Regions from separate parts of the Homo sapiens genome. Here region 2 is linked to region 1. The links are contacts of gene promoters, found by promoter capture Hi-C in blood cells and fetal thymus (Javierre and others, 2016). All regions are on one chromosome and are shown on one strand. Each heading gives the region's core, a stretch centred on a gene start or on the middle of the fragment in contact. The rest is flanking DNA. Distances are from core to core; before and after follow the strand shown.

Region 1 (3,979 bases), core at 847-3,346:
GCTTTGCTATAAGTTGCATGTGTACTCTATGTGAATGAAGTGGTTAAAACAGGAAGGAAAAAAAGCCTTGTTTAAATTAGAATAGTAATATACCCTTTCTTCAAATTCAAGAAACAAGAATTTACTAAAATCCTAGAAGAATCTGCTAATTTTTAAGTTAGAAAACTGGTAATATTCTTAAAGTAGGAAAAAATATATTAGAATATTACATATCTCACCTGTAGCAGCTGGGTTTATCAATCCAGCAGAACCACTGTTTGCAATCTGAGAAGGGGCCTGGCTCAGCCCGGTAGAAGGGGCTCCTAACCGAGGAAACTGTTGAGAACTCATTTCCACCTGTAGTACATACAGTTATATGGTTATTACTAGATTCTGAGATCTGAATCAATACTGAGAAATTAAAGCATCTTTAGTACCTATGAGATAGTCCCTTGGAAAAGCAAATGCTGCATCATTTATTTAAAAACAATAACTTGGGATCAATATAAATGCAGACATTATCTAAACTACCTAAGTTTTCTACAAATATTGTTTATACGGAGCTGGCGGGTACTATGACCCTCCATAAATACTTGTGGATTGCTATGCTAAAAAAATCACCATTGAATCCTGTACAAGAGTCACATGACAGGTATTACCACAATGCATGTGTATTTCTCTGTGTAAAGTTTTATGGAAAATGGCATGTCTCTTTGAAACACTCAAATCTCACACCAAGGTGAACAGAACTGTGATTAGTATGTCATAGGAACATTCGGAGGAAGATATCCAGCCCTAAGAAAAGATCCGATATCTTACATCCAGACCCGATGCAAAAGGAATTCTCCAATGCTTTTCGGCAAAGGCCTCCATTTACGGATTTCCTTTTCCTTCTCTTCCACAGATCCCCTCACAGAGCCAGAGGACCCTACACCTTCTCCATCTTCCCTAAAATCGCCCCCCACTTTTCCCTCAGGAGCCAAGCGATCTCCCGATTCGCCCGCAACCCCACCCCACCGCGAAGCCCCCGCTGAGACCGGAGGACGCCGGTTTCCAGACACCTCGGAGTGTGAGACCCCCGTCTCCGGGGTGGGGGTGCGGACGGGCGATCTGGGGACCCGACCACAAGACGAGCACTGTGCCTCTTTACCTGTAGCCGCCGCCCGCCGCCCGCACCGCCCGCTTCTATCTCGCCGGCCTGGGGGTGCCGCGGAGGGCCCATCTCGGCGGCGGCGATGTGCTCGGCGGGCGCGGGGAGGGATCGCGGCGGCGGCGCCCGGGGCCCGCTGCTGTCCAGCCCCGCTGGCCCCACTCACCCCCGCCACCCGGCCGCCGCTGTGCTCGCAGTCCTCTTCCCCCGAACCTGCCCCTGCCTCCCCCGCCCGCCCATTGGCCCCACGCCCGACGCGTCAGTGGAGGCCCAGGACCAATCCACAGCGACCTGCACGTTCAGAGCCCGCCCCACCCTCCCGCCGACTGCCAGCCAATCAGGCGCGAGCCTGGCCGGGGCAGCCCAAACCCCTCGAGGCTGAGCCAATGGCAGAGGAAGACAGGCGCCCCCGGCGAAGGGGGCGGGGAGCGGGGAGGCCCCGCCTCAGCCAGGGTCTGAAAGCGGCGGGCGCAGGGCCCGGATGTGGAGAGTCACTTTAAACTGCTCCAGGAGCCAAACTCCCTGGGCCGGCCGCCCGCCCGCCCGCCCGCCCGCGCTCCCCCGGCCGCTCTGCTTCCCCGCCAAGGCCCACGTCCGCCACGCCCCCACGCCCGGGTCAGCCCACCCCTCCCGGTGCCTCTCCCTTCCTCGCCACAGGACACCCAGCCCCTGTCGCCGGCCCAACCGCCGTGACCAGCTCGCGAAAGAGCCGCGGTCCGAGCCGCAGGAGACGAGGATCCTCTGCCCTTCCCCGGGGACGCGCAACGGGACGGACGCTGCAGCCCGGCTCAGCCGCCCCGCCCCCTCGTCTCCTCCCCTTCCCTCCCGGGCGCCCGTCCCGCCATTACCTGGGTGCTGCGCCCAGTGGCCGCCGCGCCGCCTTGAGCTCGCTCCCGCGCGCTCTCCGTCTGTGGGGCCGACGTCCCCAGGCTCCGGACCCGCAGCCACCGCCGGGGAGCTAGCACTCTGCCCCCCACCCCTCACTCCAGCGCCGCTGCTTCCGCCGCCGTAACGAGCCTCCCGTCTATTGGCTGGCGCAGGCCCCGCCCCCTGCCGAGTCAGCCAGTCGCCGGTGGTCGTGAGCGGGAGAGCGGACGGGCCCGCCCCTCTGAGCCGCGGCGTCCTGTGGGAAATGTAGTCGCCGGAGTCAGGAGGGCGGGCCGCGAAGGAGGTGGAGAGCGCCGGGGCGGGGCCGCAGGCGACCCGGCCAGGGCAACACACCCCTTTGCTGTCTGAAGTCGGTTCTGCCTTTTCTCTTGGCTAAGTGAGAAGACAGTGGATCCCACCCTATGCCTTAACCTGAGGGCACTGGGTTTCATTTTCCCCGCGGGGAGGCGCGGCGCGGGAAAGGGTAATGGAGGCCAACTGCGGCGGCCAAGGGATCCGCGGGCCGGGCCAGTGTCGTGACGGTGCCCGCCTCCCTATGCCGCGAGTGGGACTCGGTGTCCCCACCGGGAACCGCGGTCGGCACAGCCTACGCGCGGCGGGAGCCGCCAGGCGCAGCGCGGGCGCGGCTCTGTGAAAGCAGGCCGGCAGGGCGCAGGGCTCTGGGCGGCCGGGGCGCACCTGCGCGCGCTTTCCGGATTATAAAGGAGCTGAAGGGGGCAGTTTTATTTTGTCATTTTGCTTGGGGTTCAGGGTTGGAGTTTATGCACCTGTAGAAGACTTAGCCATATCTTTTGAGGCCACATTTGTGTCTGATAAGAGATTAAGTCTCCCTCTTCCCTTACCAGATGGTAATTTAGGCCTGGAGTTTTGTGATTAGTTAGGAAATAAATGGGGCTCAAACCCCCCTCTTCCTATCATGCACAGCTGTGTAAGACAACTGCTTGGTTAGAAGAGAGTAGCTCCTGGCTATAGCCCAGGGATGAGTCTCAGATACTCCTCCTCTTCAAGCCACTTTCCTTTTCCACCTTCATGCCTTCATTCTCAAACTTCTAAAGAGTGACTCCTGTGATAGACTTCAGCCTCCTCTCTGCCTAGGCAGTCCTTATCCCTTTTGGAGTTGCCACTCTTCTCAGACTGCTCCCCAAAAGTTGCCAACACCTACTCAACTTCAAACCCATCGGTCCTCACTTAGATCTCATCTTGTTTAGCTTACTGACCAGTAGTAATTCCTCCTCATGTCTTCCCTTGGCCTCTAGAACCAGGCTGTCTCCTGCTTCTACTCCTATGTCAAGCTCCATTATACCTCCTCTTTCTCATAAATACAGCATTCTTCAGGGCTCCAACACGCTAATGCTATACTGCCTTCCTAAATGGTTTAATGTATTTCCACAGTTTCAAATGTCATCCTTTTTGTTTTTTGTTTTTTTGAGACAGGTTCTCAGTTCAGCCCAAGCTGAAGTCCAGTGGCGTGATCACAGCTCATTGCAGCCTCGACTTCCTTGTCTCAACTAACTTATTGCCTCAGCCTCCTGAGTAGCCAGGACTGCAGGCGCATGCCACCACACCCCACTAAACATATATATATGCCAGGCACGTGGCTCATGCCTGTAATCCCAGCACTTTGGGAGGCCGAGGCAGGCGAATCACCTGAGGTCAGGAGTTCGAGACCAGCCTGACCAACATGGGAAAGACCCCATCTCTACTAAAGATACAAAATTAGCCGGGAATGGTGGCAAATTCCTGTAATCCCAGCTACTCAGGAGGCTAAGGCAGGAAAATTGCTTGAACCCGGGAGGCAGAAGTTGCTGTGAGCCCAGATCAAGCCATTGCACTCCAGCCTGGGCAACAAGAGCGAAACTCTGTCTCAAAAATATATATTTATATATGAATACATATATTTTATATATATAATATATATTTTTGAGATGGAGTTGTATGTATATATATGTATATATGTATATA
Region 2 (3,979 bases), core at 678-3,177, 340 kb before region 1:
TGAACCTGGGAGGCAGAGGTTGCAGTGAGCCAAGATCGTGCCACTGCACTCCAGCCTGGATGACAGAGTGAGACTCCATCTCAAAAAAAAAAAAAATAGTGGTGAATTTTGTCAAATGCTTTTTCTATGTCTGTTGAAATGTCCATATGAGTTTTGTCCTTCAGTGTATTAATGTAGTGTATTACAGTGATTGATGTTAATATATTATACCAACCTTGCATTCCTGGGATAAATCCCACTTCAATGTGGTATATAATCCTTTGTATATGTTGCTGGATTAGGCTGCTAGTAATTAGTTGAGGATTTTTGTGTATATTCATAAGAGATGTTGGCTGTAATTTTTCATCCATCTCCTTTGTGCTGTTACTGTTAAATAACATTTTGACAAAATGTTGACACATATTACATTCCTATATGTGCATAGCCCATAAAAAGTTACATGCATATTTTCTTATGCAATTACTTTTTAGATCAGTTAAGAGGAGAAGAAGAAATATGCAATTATACTTTATATTGTAATTATCTACTTTTACCAACACTTTTGTTTTTCATGTGGATTCAAATTAGTTTCTGGTGTCACTTGCTTTCTATCTGAAAAACCTTAAATATTTCTTGTTACTCAGGACTGGTAGCAATAAATTCAGTCAGATTTTATTTATTTTGGAGTGCTTTTTATTTTGCCATTATTGTTGAAAGATAGTTTTGTTGGGTATGGAATTATTGGTTAACAGGTTTTTTGTTGTTGTTTTGTTTTTACTGTTAAGCACTTTGAACATGTCATACCACGGCTTTCTAGCCCCCATTGCTTCTGATGAGACATCATTTGTCAATATTATTGTACTACTGGTACACAATGAATTGTATTCCTTTTGCTGCATTTAAGATTTTATCTTTATCTTTGGCTTTCAAAATTTGACTATAATATGTCTGAGTGTGAATGCCTTTGTGTTCATCCTACTTGAAATTCATTGTTTCTCAGATGTTTAGAATAATGTTTTTCATCAAAGTTGGGGAAATTGGTCAGGCACAGTGGCTCTTGCCTTTAGGTGATGAGTAAGCTCAGGACTTTAGGAGGCTGAAGTGGGATGATCATTTGAGGCTAGGAGTTCAAGACCAGCCTAGGAAATACAGCAAGACCCTGTCTTTACAAAAAACTTGAAAATTAGCTGAGCATTGGGGTGCATGCCTGTAGTCCTAGCTACTTGGGAGGTTGAGGCAGGAAGAATGCTTGAGCCCAGGGAGTCAAAGTTAGAGTGAGCTATGCTTGTGCCACTGCCTTCCAGGCTGGGTGACAGAGCAAGACTCTTTCTATAAACATGATAATATTAATAAATTTTAAATAAATAAGCAAATAATTTGGGGAAATTTTCAGCCATTGTGCCTTCTAATAATTTTTATGTCCCTTTCTCTCACTTCTCTCCATTATTCTTATGTGTATTAGTCCATTTTTACATTGCTATAAAGAAATACCTGAGACTGGGTAATTTATAAAGAAAGGAGATTTAATTGGCTCACAGTTCTGCAGGCTGTACAGGAAGTGTGGCAGCATCTGCTTGGCTTCTGGGGAGGCCTTAGGAAACTTATACTCATGGCAGAAGGTGAAGGAGAAACAGGCACATCTTACATGGCCAGAGCAGAAGGAAAAGAGAAGGAGCAGGGAGGTGCTACTTTTTTTTTTTTTTTTGAGCTGGAGTCTCACTCTGGCCTAGGCTGGAGTGCAGTGGTGCAATCTCTGCTCACTGCAACCTCTGCCTCCCAGGTTCAAGTAATTCTCCTGCCTCAGCCTTCCAAGTAGCTGGGATTACAGGCACCCACCACCATACTCAACTAATTTTTGTGTTTTTAGTAAAGACAGGGTTTCACCATGTTGGCCAGGCTGGTCTTGAACTCCTGGCCTCAGGTGATCTGCCCCCCCTTAGCCCCCCAAAGTGCTGGGATTACAGGTGTGAGTCACTGTGCCTGGCCCAGACTTGTAAATGACCAGATTTTATGAGAACTCACTATTATGACTAAGGAGGATGGTGCTAAACCACTGGAAACTGCCCCCATGATCCAGTCACCTCCCACCAGGCCCCACCTCTAACACTGGGAATTATAATTTAACACGAGATTTGGGTGGGGACACAAACCATATCATTTTGCCGCCGGCCCCTCCCAAATCTCATGTCCTTCTGATATTTCAAAATATAATCATGCAGTCTCACAAAGTGTTAACTTATTCCAGCATTAACTCAAAAGTCCAAAATCTCATCTGAGACAAGGCAAGTTCCTTCCACCTATGAGCCTGTAAAATCAAAAACAAGTTAGTTACTTCCAATGGGGGTACAGTCATTGGTTAAATACTCCCATTCCAAAAGGGAGAAATCAGCCAAAAGAAAGGGGCTTCAGGCCCCATGCAAGTTCAAAACCCAGCAGGGTAGTCGTTCAATCTTAAAGGTCCAAAATAATCTCATTTGACACCATGCCCCACATCCAGGGGACACTAGTGTGAGAGCTGGGCTCCCAAGGCCTTGGGAAGCTCTCCCCCTGTGGCTTTGCAGGGTTCAGCCCACATGGCTGCTCTCAAGGGATGGTCTTGAGTGCCTGTGGCTTTTCCAGGTGCAGGATGCAAGCAGCCAGTGGATCTACCATTCTGAGGTCTGGAAGACAGAGGTCCTCATCTCACAGCTCCACTAGGTAGTCCCCCAGTGGGGAGTCTGTGTGGGGGCTCCAACCCCACATTTCCACACTGCCTTAGTAGAGGTTCTGTATGAGGGCTTTGCCCCTGCAGCAGGTTTCTGCCTGAACATCCAGGCATTTCCATACATCCTCTGAAATTTAGGCAGAGGCTCCCAAGCCTAAACTCTTGCATTCTGTGCACCTGCAGGCTTAACACCACATGAAAGTTGCCAAGTTTAATGGCTTGCACCCTCTGAAACAGTGGCCAGGGCCCCTTTCAGCCAGCTGGAGCTGGAGCAGCTGGGATGCAGGGAGTAGAGTCTCAAGGCTGTGCAGGGCAGCAGGGCCCTGGGCCTGACCTAGAAAACCATTCAGTCCTCTGAAGCATCCAGGCCTGTGCTGGGAGGGGCTGCCACGAAGGTCTCTGAAATGCCTTCTAGACCTTTTCCCCATTGTCTTGGCTATTAGCACTTGGGCTCCTCTTTACTTATGCAAATTTCTGCAGCCTGCTTGAATTCCTCCCCCGAAAATTAGCTTTTCTTTTCTACCACATGGCCAGGCTACAAATTTTCCAAACTTTTACACTCTGCTTCCCTTTTAAATATAAGTTCCAGGTTCAGGTCATTTCTTTGCTCACACATATGAGCGTAGGTTGTTAGAAGCAGCCAGGCCAATCCGTAAACACTTTGCAGCTTAAAAATTTCTTCCACCAGATACCCTAAATCATCACTCTCAAGTTCAGAGTGCCACAGATCCCTAGGGCAGGGGCACAACACCACCAGGTTCTGTTGCGAATATGTAACAAAGGTTATCTTTGCTCCAGTTCCCATTAAGTTCCTTATTTCCATCTGAGACCTCCTCACCCTGGCCTTCACTATCCATATTACTATCAGCATTTTGGTCACAACCATTTAACCAGTCCGTAGGGAGTTCCAAATTTCCCCTCATCTTCCTGTCTTCTTCTGAGCCCTCCAAACTCTTCCAACCTCTGCTCATTACCCAGTTCCAAAGTCACTTCCACATTTTCAGGTATTTTTATAGCAATGTCCCACTCCTCAGTACCAATTTTCTATATTAGTCCATTCTTGCATAGCTATAAAGAAATTCCAGAGACTGGGTAATTTATAAAGAAGAGAGGTTTAATTGGCTCATGGTCCTGCAGGCTGTACAGGAAGCATGGCAGCATCTGCTCAGCTTCTGGGGAGGCCTCAGAAAACTTACAATCATGGCAGAGTGCAAATGGGGAACAGGCATGTCTTACATGGCCAGTGCAGGAGGAAGAAACAGGGAGGGGGGAGGTGCTACACACTTTTAAATGACA

What was found. The method cuts DNA at HindIII sites, captures the fragments that hold promoters and counts their contacts. A CHiCAGO score of 5 or more calls a contact.
Region 2: a contact is called between a fragment that was not itself captured here and the fragment with the promoter of SAP130 in region 1, in 1 of 17 cell types (neutrophils). The highest score is 5.2, in neutrophils.

Annotation. Positions count from the first base shown.
Region 1 is chr2:128,025,963-128,029,941 of GRCh38, forward strand. It overlaps SAP130 (Sin3A associated protein 130), which reads right to left and starts at 2,097. Exons shown (of 21, transcript NM_001330301.2): 1 at 1,978-2,097; 2 at 219-336. The coding sequence starts at 330. RefSeq lists silencers at 1,075-1,364, 1,425-1,764, 1,865-2,384, 2,635-2,784. The HindIII fragment of the contact is 20,582 bases long and covers 1-3,979 here.
Region 2 is chr2:127,687,872-127,691,850 of GRCh38, forward strand. No RefSeq gene overlaps it. Among named protein-coding and RNA genes, the nearest start is that of SFT2D3, 12 kb to the right of the region's middle. The HindIII fragment of the contact is 6,533 bases long and covers 1-3,979 here.